Regions from separate parts of the Homo sapiens genome. Here regions 2, 3, 4, 5, 6 and 7 are each linked to region 1. The links are contacts of gene promoters, found by promoter capture Hi-C in blood cells and fetal thymus (Javierre and others, 2016). All regions are on one chromosome and are shown on one strand. The core of a region is centred on a gene start or on the middle of the fragment in contact, and the rest is flanking DNA. Distances in the headings are between cores, read along the strand shown. Region 1 holds the start of CHP2 (calcineurin like EF-hand protein 2). Region 2 overlaps CACNG3 (calcium voltage-gated channel auxiliary subunit gamma 3). Region 3 has its middle 8.1 kb from the start of LINC02194. Region 4 overlaps PRKCB (protein kinase C beta). Region 5 overlaps PRKCB (protein kinase C beta). Region 6 overlaps PRKCB (protein kinase C beta). Region 7 overlaps PRKCB (protein kinase C beta).

Region 1 (3,667 bases), core at 302-2,801:
GGATTACAGGCATAAGCCACCGCGCCCGGCCTCTTTTCTTTTCAAGACAGGGTCTCACTCTGTCACCCAGGCTGGAGTGTAATGGCGTGATCATGGCTCCCTGCAGCCTCAACCTCCTGGGCTCAAGTGATCCTCCTGTCTCAGACTCCCAAGTAGCTGAGACTACAGGCATGTGCCACGACACCTGGTTAATTTTTTTTTTTTGTATTCTTTTGTAGAGATGGGGTCTCACTATGTTGCCTAGGCTGGTCTTGAGCTCCTGGGCTCAAGCAATCCTCCTGCCTCTACCTCCCAAAGTGCTGGGATTACAGGCATGAGCCTCCACGTCTGCCCTGAAATTTCAATATCACAGCTATACTGTATATCTATTTATGTGCTGTATGTATGCTGTGCTTTGTACATAAAAAATATGTTTTATTTTTTGCCCCGTTGGGGTGAGATAGAGACCGCACTGAGAATGCACGCTTTACATAATTAGTTCACAACTTGCCCCCGGCAGCCTCCACCACGTAAAATTAGAAGAAAGCAGCCCAGCAGGGCCTACAAGGAATGTGTGAACGGATGCACGTAAAGTGCTTAGCAAAGCGTGGTAAACAAGAGCCCTTGTTGTCATTCTTGCTTTAAGCCTAGTCCCAGTGATGTCTGTAACCCTCTCTTGGGCCAAGGAGTCCCATGGCTCTGGAGGGCTGTTCAGAGGACTAAGTCATTCCCAGTCTGGAGCTCTACGGGATCAGTAGGTACCTAAGGGAGTGAATTGGGCTTGGAGGGACTGTGGCCAGAAGACAGCTCTGGGCCTGGTGGTGATAGAACTTCTGATTTCTCAGGAAAAGCCAAGAATGTGGATTTTGGGTTAAATCTCCTGAATTTTAAGCATTGGCTCAATTAAACAACAATAAGGCAATGTGAACCGAACAAAAGGGATGAAACCAAGATTTACTGACTTTCCCAGAGTCACGGGCACGGCTGGGATTCCAACAAGGACTCCCAAACCAGTGCTCTTTCCACTTAACCTAACGCACACCCTTCATCTCGCCGCCCCTCCCCACTTCCCCGTCTTTGGGAGTTCTTCGATGCCTCTTCCCCCCTCCCCCCAGGATTCCCTCCCCATAGGCCACCCGCCTTCCAGCAGGGCGTGGTCTCTACAGAGGAGGTCAGGTCTCCCAGGCTTCCTCAGCGTCGACGCCGGGGAGCGCCCTGGGGTTGGGAGCGCCCGGGGCCCGCGAAGGAGGAGGTGGCTCAGGTGTCAGGGCGCACCGTGGGAACCGGCCCCGGGGGAGGCGTGGAAACGCGGGGCCTGGGACTCGACCAGCCTCTCCCGTGCGGATCGCAAAATCTCGGAGCTGAAACAGCCCGTTGTTCGCAGCCTCCCTCTGACCCGCCACCCTGCACATTGTTTTCCATTCGCCCGGGTCGCGGGTGGGAGGAGAGGCACGCCGGGGTTCTGGAGCTTGGCCGCGCGCCAGGCTTGTGGCCTTCGTCCCCCTGGGGCCACTGGGGCGGCCACGCCTCTCCGGCGGGAGGAGAGAACGCGTGGGTCCGGGTGGCTGCTCCGGCCCTTCCGCCTCCAGCTCGGCCATGGGGTCGCGCAGCTCCCACGCCGCGGTCATTCCCGACGGGGACAGTATTCGGCGAGAGACCGGCTGTGAGTGCGCCCGCGTCGGCGGCTGCGGAGGGGACGGGGCGAACCCAGGCGTCTGGGGCTAGGGAAGGGGTTGGGTTGAAGGATGGACGAACTTACAAGTCTGGGGTCCGGGGCTCCCCGGAGCTGGAAGACCAAGGCCCCTGTGCCTGGGATCGCTGGGTTAGGGGCGGGTTAACCTAGGGGTCCCAGCCTCCAAGTCTGGGGAGGATCCGGGTTCACGGGGTCGGAGTCCAGAGGAATCCAGGCACCCAGGTGTCCTCCAGCCCGGCTCGAAGCTGAAGGCAGAGCTGACGGCGGTTGGAAGGGATGGCTTTGGTTCTTTGGTTTTCGGGAGGTTGCGAGCCGCCCGGGTCTTGAACCTGGATCTTCGCGGGGTCGTGTCACTCTCCCTCCGCCCCGGCCAGCTCAACCCCTGATTCCCCGGGATGATCGCCCCTTCCAGCCAGCCCCCGCTGTTCTGGCCCATCTTCCTGGCCTGTTGGGGCGGGTTTCTGGAGCTGGCCCTGCAGAGTCACACACCCCCACCCCACTCTCCTTCCCGCAGTCTCCCAAGCCAGCCTGCTCCGCCTGCACCACCGGTTCCGGGCACTGGACAGGAATAAGAAGGGCTACCTGAGGTGAGGGGGAGCCGGCCTCATAACTTCTGGCCTCTGTCTCTCTGACTCCATGTCCCTCTTTGACCCTCCGTCTGGCATCTCTGCCTTACCCTCTTTGAAATTTGGCTTTGCAGCCGCATGGATCTCCAGCAGATAGGGGCGCTCGCCGTGAACCCCCTGGGAGACCGAATTATAGAAAGCTTCTTCCCCGATGGGTGAGGCTTGCTGGGCGTGGGGAGGTGAAGGCGGGAAAACCGGTGTGTGAGTGGGTGGGAGGGGAGGTTAGAGACGGAGGCAAAGTGATGGCCAAGGTGACCACCACCTCTTTCCATTCTGTCCCGTCTCCCCAGGAGCCAGCGAGTGGATTTCCCAGGCTTTGTCAGGGTCTTGGCTCATTTTCGCCCTGTAGAAGATGAGGACACAGAAACCCAAGACCCCAAGAAACCTGAACCTCTCAACAGCAGAAGGAACAAACTTCACTGTGAGTTTGTGAGGACCTGCACAAGTGAGAATGCAGATGTACCCACACCAGGGACAGGCTCCAGGGATCTCCCACTCCCTTCCTGAGGGCATTGACAACCTCCCCCCTCCTCCAAGGTGGGGGGAAGGAAGGTGGCTGCTGGAAGAGAGCCAGGGAAGACCTACCTTCCTTTCCCCCTCCCACCCTCTCCCCAGATGCATTTCAGCTCTATGACCTGGATCGCGATGGGAAGATCTCCAGGCATGAGATGCTGCAGGTTGGCAGAAAGCGAGAGCAAGAGATGTGATGTGTGAAGGATGGGATGGTTAAATGCAATGGTGTGAGAGATGGGGTGGGATGATTGGGGAACTGGGGCGCAGATAATTGGGGTATTGGTTGGGAAATGGGAATGGGTGCAGTTAGAGTGTGGGTTTGTTGGGAGTCGGAGTGGGGAGCAGTTGACTATGAGGTTGGGAATAGATCAGTGATTCTCAACTGGGGGTGATTTTGCTCCCTGAGTGAATATCTGGCAATATCTGGAGATGCTTTTTGTTGTCACAATGGGGGAGAGAGTGTGCTACTGGCATCTAGTGGGTAGAGGTCAGGAATGTGGCTATATATCATGCAATACCCAGGAGAGCCTCTTCCAACAAGGAGTTACCTGGCTCCAAATGTCAACAGTGCCAAGATTGAGAAACTCTGGAACAGATGTGATGGAATGAGGATGGAATTAGAAACCCTTAGTGGCTAAGGTGGAGAATGGTGTGGAGGATGGATGGAGGTTGGGTGATAAAGTTGGGTAATGAGTTTGAGCATATTTTGAGGGTAGTGCAGGATGGTGAGGGAGAGATAGGAGATTGGTTGTTGAAGCAGTAGGGAAAATTATTGGGGGATATGGTGAAAAATGGATGAAGGATGGATTATAAAATTAGCAATAACTTTTGGGATGAGGTGGGCAAGGTTTAGGAG
Region 2 (3,667 bases), core at 476-2,975, 500 kb after region 1:
AGATCCTGACCCGGTCTGGCACATTCTGAGCTATTTCATTATTTCTCAACATAGACTTATCAGTTTCTCCTGAGTTTGCTCTAACTAGATATTGTCATGAACTTCCACTGCCAATCAGTAACAGGGTAACATATGTAAACCCCTACTCCCACCCACACCCTATGCACACATTTTAAGAAAAAATCCTTATTGATACATGTTTTATTAGTTTGGATCACAACAAAACTGAAGTCTTGGTATTTTGTATCCACCTGTCTTCATTCCTAAATCATTCCCAAACCCCTAAAAAGGTATTTCCATGACATTTACAAAAGACTGATTCTCCAAGAATTGCAGTTCGTCATTTCTAGTTCTAAAAATTAGGGAGTAGTTATAACTTATAATGAAGAAGAAAGAGCAATTTAAAAATATAAAGCCCTTTTGTAGCCTATCACACTATTAAACTTGCTTTCACCACACCAGAAGTCACTCTCAGCACCAGTAGGCAATGCTTGGATATCACTGGGAGTAAATAGAAAGATAAGGAAGAAAATCAAAGCTCTTTGGAGCCTATGTGCCTGAGGGAAGTCACTGGATTAGAGGGGCAGTAGGGGTTTTCTTAGGCTTCCGAGAAATCTGTGAAGCTTGTCACAGTGGTGGGCAAGGAAATCTGCGTTTCCTGTGTGGTCCCCTCCCCTGCTTGCCATTGGTTCTTCACACTGCATTTTCACTGGCTGGCATTTGTCAGGGCTTCTTGAGAACTTGCATTTATGTAAATCGCTTGGGAAATCATGCTATGACATCACTTGCCAGTGTAATATTGCATCATTCTCTGGCCTTTTTCCCATGTCCTGACACTTTGAACAACTGCTCTCCTGACCGTAGCGCTACTACAATTGATTCTGTTTCTAACACAAATTTGCAACTGGTGGGAAGCCCAGGTAGGAAAGGGCTACCTTTAATGCAGCAAGGATCATGTGAAGTCAGAAGACCTGGGTAATGCTGCAAAGTATCGCTGTGGCCTTGGTTAAGACATTTACCCTCTCCAACTCTCAGTTTATTCATCTGGGAAATGATACGTTTGGATTAGGTGGTCTTGAATTAACATTATCTAAAGCTTATACTGTATTCAATATACTGACAGAAATTCTAGAATAATTATTTCCTAAACAATGACAAAAGTTGGATATTTGTGAGCATTTGTGATTGGGTATGGTGAAGTCATTTACCTCAGGGAAATTCCATATTTCCCTTTCTTATATTGGCTATAAGGAATTGAATTATCTTTTGTAAAACTGATTTGGTGGATGTTGCGATATCTACATGGTTCTAGAGATGGCATAGAAGTTCTAAGGTTCCTCCAAGCCAAAAATGGCACATATGTATACAGTGCTTTAGCCATTTCCAATTCTTCTGCCTCTGGGAATCAAACCTGAGAATGCACAATTAAAAATGAAGTTTGACGTTCCTCATTATGATCTATGAAAAAAATATATATCTATAAGAGCAGAGGTAGGACCTAAAATTTCTAAACACTTGCTAAGAATTTCTCAACTGATGATTTCTCTTTTTTCCAACATCAAGTCCTACACCCACAGTTTGTACAAGGAATTGAAACCCCAGCCAGGCATTCTGTAGGCTTAGTGGGAGAAGTGAGAAATTGAATCAAGAAGGAATTGGATGAATTGAAGACATAACCTTGGGCAGGTGAATTCTATTGAGAAAATGTGTTGCAGTCCCCATACAACTTGGCCTGGCTTTTTTTGTTGTTGTTCACTTTTTTGAAGTATTAAATACAGTAAGATGCACAAATCACAATGAATCACAATAAAATATTAGCTATGGCTGCACCCATGTAATTAACACCTAGGTGGGTCCTGGCTGAAATTTGAAGCCAAGATGTGTACTAAACACATCAAGTGTTTGGGGAATTTGCAGAAGCCTCTGATTTCTGCATGGGAAGTCACATGCAGTTGGTAGCATCCATCCCAGGCATTTCCATCCTTTGCTAGAATGAAGATGAACAGTCCTTTCCCATTCAGTATTTCTTACCTACACCTGAGCCTCAAAATCCTCATTTTCTGGTCCTTTAAGTGTCAAATGAAAACTGGGGGTTTTCGTAGCTCCATTTTCTTAGAGGTCAAATTAGAAATGTTTGTTCTTCTGTGCTTTTTTAAAGAGCCATGAGACAATGTGATTATTTTATCCAAAAGAAGAGAATGCCAAGGAGAACATGACAGCTGTCTGCAAATATCTGAAGGGCTGTCATATGAAAGAGAGATTTGAGATGTTCTGTGTGGCCTCAAGGAGGTAGAAGTAGGAGCTAGAGGAAACCAGGTTTTACCTCAATATAAATAACTATCCAATGTGGAATGGGAAGCTTTGGCAGGTGATGGGTCTTCCAACACCAAAAATATTCAAGAATAAGCAAACTACATCGTTTCCCAACTTTGCTGGTCATCAGATTCTCATGAGGAACTTTTAAAAAATTAGATTATCAGGGGCTCCACAACTAGATTCCCTGCTTCCATAGGTCTGAGGTAGACCAGGAAAATCTGAGTTTTCTAAAGGTGCTCCAAGCAATTATGATGTTAAAGCCAACATGTATTGGTATTTGCACTGGTATTGACTATGTGTTTTAAGGATGATCCCATCACTCAAGGAGGAGAAGGATGTTTCCAGTTTTCATTTCTGTAGGTAAGTTATATCCTTCTCCTCCTTGAGTGACATGATCAGCCAAACCAAGTTTACCTTGTAGCTGAATTTGGCCCATGGGCTGCCAGTTTTGAGCCTTGTAAATTACCTAAATGGCATTTTTAATCCAAATTTCTGATATTTTTATATTTGACTCCTGAATTACTCTTTAATAGTCAATAATCACTTTTTCAACCCTTAAAAAATACCTAGGAAAAAATAAGCTAACCTACCAGAATATCCCTTACATTTAGCACTTACTATGTGCTCAGGCTGTTCGAAGAATTTTGAAAAATTAACTCTTTCATCTTCAAAGCAGCTCAGTTGTGTAGGTACTATTATTACCCTCATTTTACAGATGAGGAAACTGAGCCCTGGGGGATTTACATAACTTGCCCAAGGTCACACACCTAAACTCAGCAGGCAATACTTAACCTTAGTCGTGCTGCCTCTCTGAGTATTTGCTAGAAAACATTAATTCATGCTTTGGTGGGTAGCCTGCTACTGGTACAAACATTAGTTTGTGAAAATGCCCAGGCACATGGGTTTTTCCATTCAGAAGTTTCAGATCTCAGAGCACTCACTGTGCCTGTGCAGCATCAGCAGGGATGCAGGAGACACCAGACACACACAAACTTAGAGGCAGCAAAGGACACGCTTTGCATGGAGAGACAATTGACCTGTGTAGAGACACCCACACTGGGAAGCCAACAAGAACGCCCAACTCATTAACTGGAAAGCACGGGAGGCATTCACAAAGTAGAGCCCTAACCTGCTGCGTGTTATCAATAGTGGCCTGTGAATTTGAATGAGAACGTGTTCAATATGTGACTCTCTCATTAAGAAAACCTCATGAAGTCCTGGAGACAATCAAAGCAATGTATTTAGATAGCAGAAAGACCACCAGTCTAGTAGTGAGGAACCCTAAGTGTTCATCCCATTTCCATAACAACAGTTATGTGAATGGTGAATGTTATTTTCCCTCTTTGGACCT
Region 3 (3,667 bases), core at 641-3,140, 470 kb after region 1:
AGCAGCACCAGATTCACATTTCTGCCCTAGTTAAGCAGCAGAAATCAAAGGGGGACTTTAGCTGATGAGCCCCTGAAGGTATTTGACCCCGAGGTCGTCCTCAGGAAATCCTACTAATTGTAAGTGGGCAAAGCCCAGCACAGGACTTTCAAGGGAAATAGATGAACAAAGAGGAAATACCAGAAAATTATGTTAAGAGGGAAGACTCTCTGAAAATTATGTTAAGGGGGAACAAGCAGAAATGACCTCCAAATCTCATCCCCTATCATCTCATGGCTCAAATCTGGATTGGGGGTGATTTGCTTATTGTTAATATGCCACAGGGGCTGAACCCATGGCAGGGACCCCATGGCTTTGGAGAGAAATCATTGGACATGGAAGGTCTATTTCATTCATTCATTCTACAAATCTCTCTTTAGAATGAATGACTGTTCCAGATGGGAACAAAGCACGGGCCCTTTTCTCATGCAGCTGATGTTTAGGAGGGATGCATATTAAATGCATATTAAATATGGTGAATAACATGATTGGAGACAGCAGGGTTTTGACCTGCTGGGTTGTCAATAAATAGCTGGGTTGTCGACTATTTAACTAAGGCGCCAAGGAGGGTGGCCTTCTTGACAAGGTGATATTTTGAGCTCAAAGATGAGAATCCAGAGCAAAGCATTCCAGACTGAAGGAATGTCAAGAGCCAGAACCTGAGGGCTGGCCTGTCAAGGAGCAGAAAGTAGAACCATGTGGCTAAAGACTGGTAAACATTGGACCAAGTGGTAGAAGATTCCTTCCAAAGAGGAAGTCAGCAGTCTGATCACGTAAGCATTTGTAGACCCTGCTGAGAAGCTTGACTTTGTTCTAAGTTCAATGAGAATCCCTTGAAGACTGTATTACTTTCCTGTTGTTGCTGTAACAAATTGTCACATGCTCCATAGCTTGAAACACCACAAATATATTATCTTATTGTTCTGGAGGTGAGAGGTCCAAAAGCAGCCTTGCTGGACTAAAATCAAGGCATTAGCAGAGCTGGTTCCTTCTGGAGGCTCCAGAGGAGAATTGGCTTCATTTCCTTTCCCACCTTCTAGAGGCTGCCTGCTTCCTTAGCTCATGGCCCCTGTTCATCTTCAAAGTGCATCTCTGCAACTTCTATGTCTGCTTTTCCATCTGTGACTTTTCTGCATCCCTTCTGATTACCTTGGGACCACTTAGATCATCCAGGATAATCTCCCCATCTCAGATTTTTAACACATCTGCAAAGTCCCCTTTGTCACGTAAGGAGCTTATTCACAGGTTTCAGCGATTAGGATGTGAATGTGTTGGGAGGGCCTTTATTCTGTCTCCCTACAGAAACTTTAAGCAAATAATGGCCATGATCTGATTTGTATTAGAGAATATAGTTTGTAGAGAAAAAGGAGGAGCAGGAAGATCATTGGAGGCCATTGTAATAGTGCAGCAAGGAGGCAGAGGTGCAGTTTACCTTGACCACTGCCATCCTTGTGGAGATGAGAGAGTAGAAACACACACACACACACACACACACACAGAGAGAGAGAGAGAGAGAGAGAGAGAGAGAGAGAGAGGCAGGTGACTGCCGCTGACAAATCCAGCCAATCTTGTTTTTACTGACCCCAAGCCCAGGGTTCTTTCAACCATCCCAGCTTTGTTTCTCTAGGGTCTGTGTGACATTTTTGAAGGGAAGAGACTTGGCCAGAAAGGGAGGGAAAGCAGGACAAGATTAGGGCATCTGTAGTGGTGAGTAAGGCCCAGAGTAGTAAGCTGAATAACGACCACCCAAAGATATCAAGTCCTAACCCTGGAATTTGGAAATTTTACCTTATTTTGGGGGTGGGGAGGAAGGTCTTTGCAAGAAGTAATTGAATGGAGGATCTTGAGATGAAGAGATGACCCTGGGTTAACAGGGTGGGCCTTAAATGTCATCACGAGTTTCCTTACAAGGCAGAGGCAGAGGAAGATAACACAGACACACGGAGGAGAAGGCAATGAGAAGATGAGGCAGAGGGAGATGCAGGCACTAGATGCTAAAGGATGCGACAGTCACCAGAAGCTGGAAGAAGCAAGGAATGCATTCTCCCGTAGACCCTCCAGACAGAGCACAGCTCTGCCAACACCTTGATTTCATACTTCTGGCCTTCTGGACTGTGGGAGAACACCTGTCACCATTTAAGGCTACTCAGTTTGTAGTAATTTGTTTCCACAGCCCCAGGAAACTGATACACCTGGTGTGGATCAGATCATAGCCTAGCGTGTGACCCAACTGCTGTGAAATTGACCAAGCTGGGATTTCAAAACCAAGTTCCCGAGTATTGCCATGCCAGCAGGCAAGTGCAGTCAGGGATGAACCCTCACTCCTGGTTGTCCCAGGAAAAGAGATGAGATGACCCTACCAAGGTTGCTCTGACAGCAAGAGGACCTTGATGCCTCTAAACCCCTTTCCCATTGGCACTGTCCCCACCAGCTGGAATAAAGAGCAAGGACCCTGTCTCTGTGGATACAGCCCTCCTGCGGGGCCCCCAAAGACAACGGATGCTTCGTATGGTGCAGGCCTGGGGACAGCTCGCCTCTCCCTCGCAATACACCCACCTGGGGTTGGCTCAAACTCCTTTTTGTCTGTTGCTGCAGAGAGTGGTGGAAAGCTACAGAGAATGGACAAAACTCACAGACCATCTGTTCATCTTCTGTGTTTTGTGAATTTATTTTCAAATGTTAAGCATTCGATAGCAGTCGTCAGGCATCATCTCAAAACTTACCATTTGGGGAAAGGCATTCTTTTAAAAATCTACAAGAATCACTCATAGACCAGTGAGAGTCAGGGTTTGGAATAGGGGGTGAGTCGTATTTTGAAACATCTTCAAATATTATCATATAATTTCATAACCGGAAAAGGAAAATAAGATGTCTTGTTTTTATAATACAGACTTCAGGAAGGAAAGCTTGACAAGATTTCACTAGAAGAGCTCTGTAGAAAATGGAGGGATTTCTTAAGAATGAATCAAGGCTCTTGATCAAGGGTGGGCGTGTGGGGGCTTATTGGAATATCCTGGCCATGGTAAGATTTTATAAATATTTTTCAGGAAGGGACACAGGTTCTCTCTCTCTCTCCATATATATATATATATATATATATATATATATATATATATATATATATATATACACACACACACACACACACACACACATATATATACACACACACATACATATATATCTATCTATCATCTATATATATATACATATATATAGAGAGAGAGAAAGAGCATAACACTTTCAGTATAGAGATGTGTCACTTTGATTCGATTCTAGCATGATCAGAAACTGAATAAAATGGATAGTTTTCAGTCATCTAGGAAGGGATGTGTCTACAGTTGTTAGGGATAAGCAGAATGTACCAACTCCTGAAGATGGGTTTTCTCTCTGTGTCCTGCCTCTCAGGGGCTGAGTTGGGGAGACACCAATGTAGGAAGAGACCCTCACTCTAAGTTCAATGACCTCCAACAGGAGCTTCTATTCTGGGTAGAACTATCCTTGTGCATCAGAGATGAGTCTGGGAGTGTTGAAGGCAATTGGGAAATTAGGCACCTAATTCCCTAAATCACGACCTTTGGCATCCACAACTAAGCCCTCTTGGCCAACACGACGAGAGCTGAATATG
Region 4 (3,667 bases), core at 350-2,849, 450 kb after region 1:
GGCATGGCACCACCATGCCTGGCATCTTGGTGCTTTTTAATAGCTTGTTTGTTTCTGCGATAAATGTAGGAGACTGATAGAAGAGTCTGGATCTCTTGTCAAATCTAGGATCAAATCGTGGTCAGATACTTAAACTAAACCCATTTTCTCATTGCACAGCAAGGACTTCATAGAGCTTTTGGGGGGATTAAAGGAGGTAAAGCTTGCAAAACACTTAACACAGTATCTGGCTCATAGTTAGTGCTTAACATACACTATTATTTGTCCATTTGATTTTTTTTCATCCCTGGGTTCTAGAAACGCAGTGGTGAATAAAACAGATGTGATTTTGCTCTCATGTGGCTTACAGTCTAGATGAGAACATAGACAATCAACAGAGAATGAACATGTATTAATAATTATAGACTGAGATATACCAGATTTTATTTCTGTTAAAGAAATGAACAGGATATCTTGACAGAGAATAACAGGAGGGAAGAATGAGAATCCTCTTTATTTGAAGGTGGTCTGGAACAGCTTCTCTGACAGGGTGCCATTTAAACTGAGATCTGGAGGAAATCAAAACACTGGATGTTATTTTTTAATGAAAATTAAGAAAAGCAAGAGCAAAACAAAACAGACTTAGTATCAAACACAAAAGACCCCTCTCCTACTGACTTCCTCCCTAAATAAACATAAGAGATAAAAGATCCCTGATTGTAAGGGACCTTCATTATTAGCAGAAAAAGGAGACTTAAATCTCTCTTTTTTTCTGCCAAAACCCAGACCACAAATGACTTTTTAAAATGATCAAATATGTATGCAGCTTTGAGCATCTGATTCTCCCTGGAGTGGGTCCCTCCTGTATTCGGCTGTGGGAAACTGGAAGGCATAGGAACGACCCTGCATTTCACTGGATGTGCACATGTGAAAAAGAAAGATGCGCTTGTCTTTTTGCCTAGGCTATGTAGCTTGGATGTCTTTTCATCGTGACCTTCTGGTCTTGTTAACCTGAAGGTGTCCTGGTGTCTTGATGGAGGCTGGGCAGGTAGCTCCCCTGAGCCACTAGCCTCATGTTATCAAAGTCGGCTAGGCAACAGACAGCAGGGAGGAGCCTTATCCTCTCCTCCACCATCTTACCTTGTCCATGCCCTCTTTTTACCTCCATTTCTTCTCCAGGCTCTTTCCTTTCCTCCTCCAAAGAAGCAATGTCTCTCTTGCAGGTCCCACTCAAGTGAGATGTCACTCCCTCCAGACAGAGTTCCTGGCCCTTCTTGGGTTCCTTTCCTCTGTGCTCAATGGCAGCACCTGTCCCATGGTCCCATGCAGTGGCCTGTGTGTGCATCTGTGTCCTCTGCTAGATCTTAAGCTCAACGGGGACAAGAACAGGTACCCTCTTATGTATCGCCAGAGTCCAGCATGCTGCTCGGCAGAGGATCTACAACAGCCAAATATTAGCCTTCCTTATTATCCCTTAGCACCAAAATACACGTCAAAGCAGCCACTTGTTTTAGAGTTTTTTTGCTTCATTTTGTTTTGAGACAGGGTCTCACTCTGTCACCCAGGCTGAAGTGCAGAGGCACGATCATAGCTTGCTGCAGTCTAAACCTCCTGGGCTCAAGTAATCCTCCAACTTCAGCCTTCCAAGTAGCTGGGACTACAGGCATGTGGCGTCATGCCCTGAGAAGTTTTAAATTTTTGTAGAGACAGGGTCTTGCTATGTTGCCCAGGCTGGTCTCACACTCCTAGCCTCAAGCGATCCTCCTGCTGCCTTAGAGTGTTTTACTAAGATGAAGCATGTTAAAGTAGCATCAGGCTAACCTTAACAATTTACCCAAATACTCCCATTCTCTTTATTTCTATTTTTCAATTTCTTCCATGATAATTGCTGTCTCATTTAAAATAGCTTTCACAGCTTCTTTTCTTATTACAAAATAATAATAACAATACCTGATTGTTATGTAAATTTTTAAAATATAATCAAGCATAAAGGGGAAAAGGAAAAAATTAAAACCATCTGTAATTCTTCGAATCTCCATAAGCCTGTGTATAAAATGTGTACAGATATTACGTATACATTTGTGTATATAATTTATAGAATGGGAAGATATTGTACACACTGTTAGTAATTATATAACTATGTCATTTAATATTCTTCTACATCTTCTTTTAATTTTTAAGAATGTTTTGCATGGTAATACATCAAATAGATGTATCATTATTTATTTAACTGTTTTCCCTATTGGCCCATAGTAGATTCCCAATTTTTCTTTCCTCTGACGATTCTTTGATGAACACCCTGTATTTTGATGGGGTAAATCCAGGAGTATAGAGGACAGGTCAGGGAAAACCTCGTGGAGGAAGTGACACTGCTCTGGAGACAGAAAGGATGCACAGGAGATAGCTGGATGAGTGGAGAAGGAGTGGAAGGCAAGTGTTCCTGGCAGAGGAGGCAGCCTGTGCAAGGGCCTGGAGTCACCTCCAAGAGTTCATGAGTGTTCTAGGAACTGGAAATACTTCAGTATGGCTGGAGGGTGTCTCAGGGGGTGGGGGACACAGGCAGGGAAGGGGCCATTGACCAAGTGTCCAGGAACAGGTCCTAAATGGCCCCTTAAGCCATGCTAAGGAGTGTGGGCTTTGGGCAATGGGGAGCTATTGCAGATAAGAGCAGGGAAATGGCATACTCCAGTCAGCGTCTTTAAAAGATCCCTTTAGCTGGCCATGGTGGTGTGCAGCTGTGGTCCCAAGCTACTCACAAGGCCAAGGCAAGAGGATCCCTTGAGCCTTGGAATTCAAGGTGGCAGTGAGCTATGATCACGCCACTGCACCCCAACCTGGGTAAGAGAGCAAGACCTTGTCTCAAAAAACAAAACAAAACAAAACAAAAAAGAGATCCCTGTGGCAGTGGTGACCAAGCCAACTCCACATTCAACAGCAAGACTCTGTTATTAATTCAATGAAACAGAAATTAAAAGAGAAGAGAAAAAGAAAAAGAGCTTACGTGTAACAGGTCACAGATAAGCTTTTCAAACTGTCTAGATTCTTAAATTCAGGAGCGTAATTCAACAAATCAACCTTCTTACTCCTCTCCTTAATCCTGAAAGAGGTGCTTGTGGTTTAAATAACCCAGTTGGTTTCTGGCCCCCATTCCTGTTCCAGGAGCCCCATTGATGTACCCTGATGACAAGGGAGTCGGATTTTCTTTTTTTTTTTAAGCTGAGTGAGGCTGAAGTGTTCACCCAAGACAAGCCAGAGAGGCAGGTGCAATCCATGGTGCGTTTTTAATTAGATCCCAGCCACTGAGCTGCCCATACTTCAAGGACACAGCAGGCAGGAAACTGATCTGGGCTGTGTCTCCCAAGGGCTGACGTCTCCATTTAGGGAGCGCTCCTGAAGCTAATGGTCAGTGACAGCTCCATTTGAAAAACACAGAAACACTTAACAGGGAGGCTGTGATCTGCCAGCCCTGTAAGCTGCTGATTAGCAGGGAAATCACGCTCCCTCTGTATCGCACCCCCTTGGTTAATCCCTGTTCTTGTGTCTCCTCTGTGCTATCTCACTTAAAGATTTCATTGTTCTCTGAGGCAGGAGGGAGTGGGGAGAGGGAGGGGGAGGTTGTGGAGCTGCCAGAAGCTGTTTCACTGTCTCCCATCACAGCCTCTGGGGAGGCCCAGGCGAAGAAACAGCC
Region 5 (3,667 bases), core at 868-3,367, 400 kb after region 1:
GGGTTTCTTCATGGGGTCTTGTTCCCTGGTCTAGCATTGTGTCTTGGGGTAGAAAGGAAAGAAACTGACAGAAGCTACAGCCTCAGAAGTCTTGCAGGGTCTCTTCACCACATTCTGTTCATTAAGGCAGCCGCAGTGCCTGCCCAGGTTCAGAGACTCTGGCTCTGATTGGAGGAGTATCAAATATTTGTAGACATGTTTTAAAACCTCTATAAAGTATCACTTCCTTCGTGCTATGGGGACAGCTCTCAAAATGTAACTCCAAGAGAGGACAGAGAGATTTATATCGAAAATGAAAGCTTGATTAGAATATTAAGAAGAAAAGGAAAGTTTTCTCTCATCCTATTAATGACTGCTGAGAAAGTGTTAGGAAAATCAGGATGGAAGGATTCTGTCAGCTTTACCTACTGACATCTCCTAGCCACCTTATTAAATGAATCAATTTTGATAATATCTGGTGATTATAATCAACATAGGAAGAATATGTTTATTAAAATGCAGACTCCCAGGTCACAGCCCAGAGCTCCTGAAGGAGAGGGAGTGCTTGGAATCTATATGGTAAGCAAAGACCCTCAAGTGATTCTGACATAGGCAAGAGGCACTGTCCTTTATAAAGACTGGAATTTGCCTTGTTTTAGGTCACATACTGACATGATGCTACTTGGCTTCATGTATTTTAATTATTAGTAAGAATTTGAGCTACCTATGTAATAATTTTGTTTTAGGGATCTCTAAGATACATAATCCATTCAAAGTAATATAAATAAAAATAACTTTATTGGAGGAACATAAAGGTTTCAAACAGAAAATGGCTAAGCCTCATGAGAGATTGGAAACTGAAAGCAAGGCCTCTGCTTGTTCTCTTACCTTCTTTGTTTTTTTCCCCCTGCCTCAAACATCTATTTTATTCCTCTTTGCCTGCACAGTGGTAGAAAAGGACCACGCTAGGCTGAGTGTGGTGGCTTACGCCTGTAATCCCAGCACTTTGGGAGACCTAGATGGGCGGATCACTGAAGGTCTGGAGTTTGAGAACAGCTGGGGCAACATGGTGAAACCCCATTTCTACTAAAAATACAAAAATTAACCAGGTGTGGTGGTGGACGCCTGTAATCCCAGCTACTTGGGAGGTTGAGGCAAGAGAATTGCTTGAACTCGGGAGGAGGTGAACGAAGATCATGCCACTGCACCCCAGCCTGGGCAACAGGGTGAGAATCTGTCTCAAAAACGAAAAACAGAAAACAAAACAAAACAAAACAAAAAAGGACCACTCTAGGAAGATCTGTGTATTCTCTGTTGAGGGACCCAGGACTGACTCCTCAGAGTACCCTAATTCAAATTCTTGGGAGGGGGAATCCGATTGGCTTGGCTCAGGTTGAGGAACTTACCTCTGATCCAATCAGCTGTGACCAGCTGTATCCACTGCCCAATCAGAAGGTTCTTCTAATAACACAGAGTTGGAAGAAGTGAAAGGCATGCTAGGGTTTTCATTTCCAAATTAAACTGCAGTCATTTTTTATCATGTGGTTACTCTTATTTTCCCTGATCTTCTTGAAACACTTGTTGCAAAACAAGGGTCAGCAAACTATTGGAGCCCAGGCTATTGCTTATTGTTGTAAATAAAGTTTTATTAGACTACGGCCACACTCATTCTCTTGATCCAGACCGTCCCGCAAAGCCTATAATATTTCCTGTTTGGCCCTTTATAGAGAAAGTGTCCTGACTCCTGCTCTAGAATTCAGTTCGCTTCTATGTCTAAATTTTTGCTATGCCTTATGCATGCCCGTTCTGTTTTCCGTTAATCAGTATAGGGCATGTTGTTGAGGGCAGGGCAAGACACTGGGAATCTTCACACACCCCTGTTTATTGATTTTTAAAACTATCTGTACAAATGCAATAGTATCTCCTACGATGCGGAGCACATAGCATTGCTGATTTGCAAGAAGATTTCAACTGCTACTTGAGATTGTTTTAGGTGCCGTGTAGTTGCACTATGAAATAAAATTAAATCACGTTATGATAAGGTTATTTCTGTGTCTCCTTTTACTCTTTCTAATTACTTGAACAAGCAAATCTCATTTGATGACAATATGCTCTCTAACAACTTTCTAATACAATTTTTTCCTTTAACAAGGAGAAGATGCAGAGCCTGACTCAGAACCTTCAGCAGCCAGCAGTATATAGCTAGAATTTACTGGCACCGCTTTGCTTTTATTTATTTTTATGCTTATCTTCCATTTATGACTTGTGATACTGGCTTGCCATTAATAGTGGTGATATAAAGTTTCCTTTTCAAATTTAGTTAAGTTGAAATGTGACTAGATTTTTAAAATGCTAAGCAAATAACAGTTTAGGTGGCAGGAAGAAATGTGAAAAAACGGATATGAATGATTGAAGTGCGGAAATGCCTGAGCTACAGTAACTGACATAGTTACAAAGCAGCCCTGGTGCCCAGAGGAGGTAGTGGCCGATTTGGTCTGAATGGAACCTCCAGATTAGAGGAGGAGATAACAGCCCAGTGGAATCTCAGATTTTCAAAGCAGTGCAAGAGCATGGAAGGACGTCATAGACAGTGGGAGTCGAATGTTCAAAGGAAAAGAAAGAACAGGATGTGGTCATGGAATTGTTTGGCTTTCAAGAGCCACTGAAGGGCTTTCAGCATTCAAGTGGCACAGTCAGAGCTGCATTTTCAGAACAGTCATTAGCTGAAGCAAGTTAATCTCCCTGAGCCTCAGTGTGTTTATCTACGAAATGGGGGTAATTGACACAGATGTAGGATGTCCACCCCTGTCCCTGGTGAAGGGGGAAATTCCCAGCCATTCTGCCCTGTCTCTCTTCCATGTGGAAGGCTAAGATGTCCTATCATGACTGCATCTGCACTGAAGGTGTCTAGGGCCCCTCCTTCTCTCGTTTTGGTTGGGGGAATGGGAGATAGTTGCAGATATTCAGGATTGTTGGATGGTGCCTTGACCGGTGGTGATGGGTCAGGGAGAGTGTATTAGTCCGTTTTCATGCTGCTGATAAAGACATACCCGAGACTGTGTAATTTATGAAAAAGAGGTTTAATGGACCTGGGGAGGCCTCAATCATGGTGGAAGGCTAAAGTCACGTCTTACATGGTAGCAGTCAAGAGAGAATGAGAGCTAAGCGAAAGGGGAAACCCCTTATAAAATCATCCGATCTTGTGAGACTTATTCACTACCACTAGAACAGTAGGCAGGAAACCGCTCCCATGATTCAATTATCTCCCACCAGGTCCCTCCCACAACACGTGGAAATTACGGGAGCTACAATTCAAGACGAGATTTGGGTGGGGACACAGCCAAACCATATCAGAGGGTGTCCACTGTCAAGGACAGCTCAGCACCAAGCCCTTCTTACTGGGCTCTGGAGTTTCTCAGCTGAGAACTCTTCTTCTTTCCATCTCCAATTCCTCTGCTCACTTGTCTTCCAGCTAAGTCACCTCCCTGCCCCCTCCCTGCACATGTCCCGGCCCCAGCTCTCTCTGGAATCCAGGAGCAGGAAGTCCCTGTCTCCACCTGACTCTACATCTTAGGAAAGTGACTCCCTTGAGTCATTGTTTCTGTGTTAGTAAGCATTGAGGAAGGAAAATACATCCCTTGGGTACCAGGGAGAGAACAGAGGGAGGCAAGAAATAAACTGAAGGTGC
Region 6 (3,667 bases), core at 574-3,073, 370 kb after region 1:
AATTCTATGTTACATCCTTAGCTTGTATCACCCTTTATCATCTGGCCCTTGTTCTCTGTGTGACTTCCTTTCTTCTTTCTCCTCCCCATCACCCACTGTGCTCTGGCCACAACATCAGCTCTTGGGTCACTGAAACACACAAAGCTCCTTCCTCCCTTAGAGGCTTTGTGATTCAGCTCCTTTTGCTGTTTGCAAGGCCGGCTGCTTCCTGCAATTCACATCTCAACTTAGACGCCACTTCTTCTGAAAAATCTTCCCCAACTACCCACTGAAAAGTTGCCGCTCATTCACTGTCCATTATGTTTAACTCTCTCATGGCACCCATCACTGAGCAATGCTTTTCTTGTGTCCTTGTTGATTTTTTCTCTCTTCCCTTTCTAAGGTCTAAGCTCCACAAGAGTAGGGATCTTCTCCGTCGTGGTCGCCACTGTGATTTCAGAGCCTAGGGATGGAATTCATTCAGTGCCCAGATTGAATGCGTGGATTCTCTCTGTCTGTGGGTGGCAAGGGCATCCACTGAGATGGACTAAGGGATCTGAAATGATGGCTCAAAGTCTGAAGAGCTTCAGCATGGGATGGGAATAGAGAGTAAGGGCAGCCAGTAAGATGGCCCATCCAGTCCCTAAGGTTGGGAATAGGCAGTTGGCAGTGGTCCACAACGTTGTATGGTTTTTACCAGCAGCTCTGAGTATCCCTGGGGTGGAGATGGAGAAGGAGATGGTGGATTTGAACTAAGCGTGGGATTAGTAGAATCAGTGAACTAGAAGATTATGGAAGAAAGAGAGTTAAGGATTCTGGGAAGAGAGATGTCCACTGCAGATCCACAGAGCCTGTACCAAGTGCTCAAGAAAAGCATGTTGAATACATGAATGAAAATGGTATCTAGATTGGGTTGGGGAAGATGTCTAGCATAAAGAGGGTCATCACCTGGGTGGGAAAAAGGGAGTTTAGAAGTCTAAGGATGAAAAAAAAATAGATGAGGTCAAGATACGTAAAATGTTAGGAAGAATTGAGGCATTGAGATTTCAAACATGGAGCAGTTTCTCTGATGATGAGGAAGAAAGTGGCCTAAATAAAGAAGAGGTTCTAATAAGCTGAGTTTTTACAAATTAAATGAGCACTTTTTTTTTCTTTTTGAGATAGAGTCTCACTCTCTTGTCCAGGCTGGAATGTAGTGGTGCATTACGGTTCACTGCAGCCTCGACATGCTGGACTCAAGCAGTCCAGCTCCTACCCAAGTTCACATCTTTCTCTGACCCCCAAATAACTGCATGCACCACCATGCCTGGCTAATTTTTGTTTTTGTTTTTTTGAATCAGAATCTTACTCTGTTGCCCAGGCTGGAGTGCAATGGCGCCATCTCGGCTCACTGCAACCTCTACCTCCAGGGTTCAAGTGATTCTCCTGCCTCAGTCTCGCGCTCGGCTAATTTTTGTAGTTTTTAATAGAGACAGGGTTTCACCATGTTGACCAGGCTGGTCTTGAACTCCTGACCTCATGTGATCCGTTCGCCTCGGCCTCCTAAAGTGCTGGGATTACAGACATGAGCCACCGCACCTGACCTAATTTTTGTATTTTTTTGTAGAGACATGGTCTCACTATGTTTCCCAGGCTGCTCAAGTACTTATAAGCTCAAGCAATCATCCTGCCGTGGCCTCAGAAAGTGCTAGGATTACAGGTGTGAGCCACCGCACCTGTCCTAAATTATATATATATATGCTTTCTTTTTTCCTTTTTTTTTTTTTTTTTTGAGACGGTGTTTCTCTCTTGTTGCCCAGGCTGGAGTGCAATGGCACAATCTCAGCTCACCGCAACCTCCGCCTCCCAGGTTCAAGTGATTCTCCTGCCTCAGCCTTTTCGAGTGGCTGGCATTACAGGCACGCGCCACCACGCCCAGCTAATTTTCCACTTTTAGTAGAGACGGGGTTTCTCCATGTTGGTCAGGCTGGTCTTGAACTCCTGACCTCAGGTGATCTGCCTGCCTCAGCCTCCCAAAGTGCTGGGATTACAGGTGTGAGCCACCACGCCCGGCCATGATATTCTTAATAAGCAATGCATTCACATGATTCATCATTAAGATTATATTAAAAGGATAAACACTGAGAAGTCCTGCTCCTACCCAAGTTCACGTCTTTCTCTGACCACTTACTGCTACTGCTTTCCCTATGTGAACACTTTTATTCAGTTAATTTGCGTCTTTCCAGTCCCCCTGAGCTAATTTAACATTTTTTATTCTTGTCCTTATTAACTCAAAAGTTCATGTACTACGCCTGTTTTTGATCACTTAACAAAACAGACGAGAGGATGTTTGATGGAGGATTGGAAGTTCTGGAGAGTCCCATGGAAAGGATTGGGGTTGGGGGGTAGTGGGTGGAGTCGTAGGAGAATGAATCACTGGGGAGCAATGAGAGAATAGATCATATGTCTCCATGGAAACTGTTATAATAATTGAGAACTCTGTTCCAGACTGGAGATATAGCATCAGATAAATCATAGATGAAAACAACAGTAAGTCATGAAAGCAAAGTAGAATAACAAACACCTCTATGATCCTTTAAAACAGAGTAATCCTTTGCAACTCTAGTGTTGCCAACTAGGGTTGTAAATTAATGCAGGTTTTATATTTGAATTCCAACTTTGAACATTTTGCAGTCTGGTTAGGTATATAGATCAATCTCCATAAACAGAAGAACACAGCTGCAGTGATTTGCTCTTCCCCTTCGAAAGATGAAAGTGATGGGGCTTTGGGGTAATCTGTTTCCACCTCCCTTAACCCAGGAAAACAAAACAAAACAAAACAAAACATGTTTTTAAACCCTAATGGCCAGGTGCGGTGGTTTGCGCCTGTAATCCCAGCACTTTGGGAGGCCAAGGTGGGCAGATCACAAAGTCAGGAGTTCGAGGCCAGCCTGGCCAATATGGTGAAACCCTGTCTCTACTAAAAATACAAAAATTAGCCGGGCATGGTGGCAGGCGCCTGTATTCCCAGCTACTCAGGAGGCTGAGGCAGGAGAATCGCTTGAACCGAGGAGGCGGAGGTTGCAGTGAGCCGAGATCGTGCCACTGCACTCCAGCCTGGGTGACAGAGCAAGACACTGTCTCAAACAACAACAACAACAACAGCCCCACTAATAATTTGTGGGGCAACTAGGGAATGGCACAAGCCTTTTGGTAAGCCCTGTAAAAATGAAACAAGGCAGGAAGCAATGGTGAAGGACATTGAATTTCAAATGTGTAAGCCCGTTTCAAAATCTTTCAAAAGAAGAAAACTGTGGAGAGTTTGTTTTTTTAAACAGGCAGAAGTGTTTACCTGGAAGGGCTATCTTACCAAAGCAGGGCCTGTTGGCATGGCTGGCTTACTCGGAGGTAGATGCCTTCTAGGACTTTTAATACAGAGCATTCAAACGTGTCATTCACGTTTAAAAATTATTTTATTTCTCAACTTTTATTTTAGATACAGAGGGTACATGCGCAGGTTTGTCACATGGGTATATTGTACCCAGGTAGTGAGCATAGTACCCAATAGGTGGTTTTTCATTTAGTGCTTAATGGTGCTTAGAATTTTATCCTTAACTGTCTGTTTTTATAATGCCTTGAAACTTTGAGTTTTGCCAACGTCTTTCAAGAATTGAACTTTGAATGATTGCTGGAGTCAAAATTATGCTGC
Region 7 (3,667 bases), core at 572-3,071, 340 kb after region 1:
ATGAGCTGTTTCCTCTTGCCTCTGTGTTACCAATCAACCAGACAGACAAGCTTCTGGCGCATCTGAGTGTCTCAATCCTGTGTGTGTGCAGCTCACTATGTGATAGATGTGTCACTCCAAGATCCCAGCCTAGAAACTGGTACATGTTATTTTCCTTGGAAGGCTCAAGAAATGAAAGTAACAGTTGGATATTATATTCTATGGGGAAAATGCATGGGTATTTTGAGAAATTATTATTCTCCAGAACAATGTTACTTAATGTGTGTCTTATAGACTGGCAGCATCAGCATCACATGGAAATGTTTTAGAAAAGCATATGGACAGGTTTCACTGCAGACTTAGGGAATCAGAATCTATCTGTGGGGGTGGGTGCCAGATACATGTGTCTCATGAGTCCTCTGAGTAATTTTTATGCACACTAAGGTTTAAGAAGCTCTCCTGTGGAAGGGTTCGAGTAAACATCGAATGCATTGTTAAGAAGAAAACCACAAATGGTTCCATTTGATGTCAGTACGTGTGGAAATGGTTAACTCTTCATAATAAAAATAGACAAACAGGCAAGGCATGGTGGCTCACACTTGTAATCCTAGCACTTTGGGAGACCAAGGCTAGAGGATCATTTGCATCCAGGAGTTTGAAACCAGTCTGGGCAACATAGAGAGACCCCCACCTCTACAAAAATTTTTTTAAAAATTAGTTAGGCATAGGTTGGCAAGCACCTGTAGTCCCAGCTACTTGGAAGGCTGAGTTGGGAGGATCACTTGAGCCCGGGAGGTCGAGGCTGCAGTGAACCATGATCATGCCACTGCACTCCAGCCTGGGTGACAGAGTGAGACCTTGTCTCTCTCTCTCTCTCTCTCACACACACACACACAACAAAAACGTAGTGAAAGAGGGCATTGCATATGAATAAGAATAATAATGAAATAGCAGTAATATATAGCAGTTAACATTTATTGAGTATTTTTTAAGTTCCAGGTTCTGTGCTAAACATGTATATTCTTTATCCAATTTTACTCTTGTAACAACCTATTTTATTGATCAAGAAATTGAGGTTCATATGTGTGAAGTAACTGCTTGGTAAGATGCGGACCCTGGGATCTTATAGCCCTGTGTCCATGACACTATATGGTCTGTCTTGGGGACAAGATTAACATTTTATTTTGTCCCCTATATCCCCAGGGCCTAGCAGAATGCTTAGCACTTAGTAGGGACTTGCTTGTTGAACTTAACTGATCAAGGTCAACATCTTGCTTTTGGTGTAAAAATGAGATGCAGCTTGCAAGCTGAGATGGGAGATGAATTCAGCCTGTGGAAAAATAGAAGACACTGCCATGTTGCTGGAGTGCAGAAAAAATGTCAGCACAGAATAAGTTACAGCTTGATCCTGGTAGCCGATTCAATGCTTCTCCCATCTCATTTATTCGGTCTCAACCCCTTACTAGCTGTATCATTTTAGGGAAGTCAGTCTTATTTATTTTCCAGCAATGGTCAGCTGTTTGAGTGTAGGAAAAGGACAGAGTAAGAAAGGACAGGTATTTGAATTTAAGTAGGGCTGGGGTCATGTGAGACAAGTAAAATAAAAAGAAAGAGGGGCAAGGGAGTTGAGGGTCTTTCCAAAGGAGTAGCTAAAATGCACCATAAAATTGAATCTGGATATGAATGGAGTAAAAGCAAGAGGGAATAGGGAGATCAAGAGAATGTGTTGGGTTCGAGGGACTGATTGGTGGAGAATGGACTGACGAATAGGGGAAGATTTATTGCAGTAGAATAATAGAACTAATGAATTGGAAAAATAGAAATTGGTGTAAGATAGTAGGGTACTTGAAACTGAGATTGAGAAAGTGGTATAATTTCTGGGATAATAGGCTCCAGAGCGTGACCATGGTAGGAGATAACTATGATTGGGGGTGAGCAAAGGTTGCAGGAAATGAGGGGGTGCTTTCTCTCCTACTTTCCAATATTCTTTCTTCTAATCTGTTTTTCTTGTTATCTTGAGTTTACAAAATTTCTGGTTTTATTTATGCTGTGGATATTTTTCCAGCCTTTTCCCTATGGGCTGTCTGGGTGCAGGTTATGGGTGATACATGGATAATAGGTGCATCTTGGTTTAGAGGGTAACTCTTTATTTCTTACTGCACTTATGGAACACGAGAAAAAAAAGTATTAAATAATGGCTATGGTAATGGATATCTTTGTCTTATTCCTTACTTTAATGGAATTGCATTTATCATGAACCATGGTGCTGTTATTTCAGATAGCCTTTATCCTGTTAAAATTCTCTGCTGTTTCTAGATAACTACAATGATCTTATGGTTTTCTTCTTTGATCTATAAATATGATGAATATATTGAAAATAGATTTCCTAAGATTGAACCATCTTTGCATTCCTGATAGGAGTCATTATGTATTCACCTTTTAGCAGATAGTTAGAGTCGATTTGGATTGAATGTATTACTGTGGATTGTTCTACTGTAAGTGAGATGATTGACATTGTATCCTTAAGAGCTGTGCAATTCTCATTTTCTAGTCTGCTTCCATTGACTACCTGCATTACTGGTTTCTGAATTGATTCCTAATTAACTACTTCCTGTTTCTCCAAGCTGATGATTTAGTCTCCCTCATCCTTTCTATAGCCAGTTGCATCTTCACTGCTGATTCCCTGCCTCCTTTTCTCCTGTAAGTTCATCTTTTTTTTTTGACGGAGTCTCACTCTGTCGCCCAGGCTGGAGTGCAGTGGCATGATCTTGGCTCACTGCAAGCTCTGCCTCCTGGGTTCATGCCATTCTCCTGCCTGGGCCTCCCAAGTAGGTGGGACCACAGGCACCTGCCACCATGCCTGGCTAATTTTTTTGTATTGTTAGTAGAGACAGGGTTTCACCATGTTAGCCTTATAGCCTCTTTACCTGGGTGTTCTGGAGTCAGGGTGGAGCTGAGCTCTAATGCTGCTGACATTGTTCCAGCCTTCTCTCTATGGGCTGTCTGGGTGCTGGTTATGGGTGATACATGGATAATAGGTGTACCTTGGTTTAGAGGGTAATTCTTCCTTTCTTTAGCTTTTTCTTTTTGAATGGAGGTAAAATTAACGTAACATAAAATTAACCATTAACTGTTTTTAAACGTACAATTCAGTGACATTTATAGAATATTCACAGTGTTGGACAACCATCATCTCTATCTAGTTCTCAGAAATTTTCATCACCTCTAAAAGAAACCCTGTACTCATTAAGCAGTCACTCCCCATTTCCCTTTCCCTCCAGCCTCTGGCAACTATTAATAGTAGTCTACTTTCTGTCTCTATGGATTTACCTGTTTGGGATGTTTCATGTAAATGGAATCATACAATATGTGACCTTTTGTGTTGGGGTACACAAATGTTCATAGCAGCAGTATTCACAACAGCCAAAAAGTGGAAACAACCCAACTATGCATCAACTGCTGAATGGATAAACAAAATGTGGGATATCTATACAATGGAATATTATTCAGTCATGCAAAAAAATGAAGTGCTGATACATGCTATAATGTGGTGAACTTTGAAAACGTTATGCTAAATGAAAGAAGCCAGCCTTTCCTGTGGGCTTTGTGGAAAATAAGCTTAGAAAACTTACAGTTAATCTTGGTATGGGAAGAGCAGTGTAAAAGTCAGAAATCCATTTTTAACCAA

Evidence for each region. The method cuts DNA at HindIII sites, captures the fragments that hold promoters and counts their contacts. A CHiCAGO score of 5 or more calls a contact.
Region 2: a fragment that was not itself captured here is called in contact with the fragment with the promoter of CHP2 in region 1 in 6 of 17 cell types (neutrophils, total CD8 T cells, naive B cells and 3 more); the score reaches 9.0 in neutrophils.
Region 3: a contact is called between a fragment that was not itself captured here and the fragment with the promoter of CHP2 in region 1, in 3 of 17 cell types (neutrophils, naive CD4 T cells and activated CD4 T cells). The highest score is 5.8, in neutrophils.
Region 4: a contact is called between a fragment that was not itself captured here and the fragment with the promoter of CHP2 in region 1, in 1 of 17 cell types (monocytes). The highest score is 5.4, in monocytes.
Region 5: a contact is called between a fragment that was not itself captured here and the fragment with the promoter of CHP2 in region 1, in 1 of 17 cell types (neutrophils). The highest score is 5.2, in neutrophils.
Region 6: a contact is called between a fragment that was not itself captured here and the fragment with the promoter of CHP2 in region 1, in 1 of 17 cell types (neutrophils). The highest score is 5.8, in neutrophils.
Region 7: a contact is called between a fragment that was not itself captured here and the fragment with the promoter of CHP2 in region 1, in 1 of 17 cell types (neutrophils). The highest score is 5.2, in neutrophils.

Annotation. Positions count from the first base shown.
Region 1 is chr16:23,753,475-23,757,141 of GRCh38, forward strand. CHP2 (calcineurin like EF-hand protein 2) reads left to right here and starts at 1,552. Exons shown (of 7, transcript NM_022097.4): 1 at 1,552-1,642; 2 at 2,187-2,259; 3 at 2,373-2,453; 4 at 2,589-2,719; 5 at 2,914-2,975. The coding sequence starts at 1,576. RefSeq lists an enhancer at 1,440-2,085. The HindIII fragment of the contact is 3,392 bases long and covers 1-2,436 here.
Region 2 is chr16:24,257,426-24,261,092 of GRCh38, forward strand. The region is part of intron 1 of CACNG3 (calcium voltage-gated channel auxiliary subunit gamma 3); the gene reads left to right. Among named protein-coding and RNA genes, the nearest start is that of CACNG3, 2.9 kb to the left of the region's middle. The HindIII fragment of the contact is 1,263 bases long and covers 1,095-2,357 here.
Region 3 is chr16:24,226,147-24,229,813 of GRCh38, forward strand. No RefSeq gene overlaps it. Among named protein-coding and RNA genes, the nearest start is that of LINC02194, 8.1 kb to the right of the region's middle. The HindIII fragment of the contact is 2,105 bases long and covers 839-2,943 here.
Region 4 is chr16:24,205,432-24,209,098 of GRCh38, forward strand. The region is part of intron 16 of PRKCB (protein kinase C beta); the gene reads left to right. Among named protein-coding and RNA genes, the nearest start is that of MIR1273H, 4.1 kb to the left of the region's middle. RefSeq lists an enhancer at 3,154-3,667. The HindIII fragment of the contact is 2,799 bases long and covers 201-2,999 here.
Region 5 is chr16:24,149,102-24,152,768 of GRCh38, forward strand. All of the region lies in intron 9 of PRKCB (protein kinase C beta), which reads left to right. Among named protein-coding and RNA genes, the nearest start is that of MIR1273H, 52 kb to the right of the region's middle. The HindIII fragment of the contact is 3,641 bases long and covers 298-3,667 here.
Region 6 is chr16:24,125,273-24,128,939 of GRCh38, forward strand. All of the region lies in intron 9 of PRKCB (protein kinase C beta), which reads left to right. Among named protein-coding and RNA genes, the nearest start is that of MIR1273H, 76 kb to the right of the region's middle. The HindIII fragment of the contact is 3,780 bases long and covers 1-3,667 here.
Region 7 is chr16:24,088,931-24,092,597 of GRCh38, forward strand. All of the region lies in intron 5 of PRKCB (protein kinase C beta), which reads left to right. Among named protein-coding and RNA genes, the nearest start is that of MIR1273H, 110 kb to the right of the region's middle. The HindIII fragment of the contact is 3,547 bases long and covers 49-3,595 here.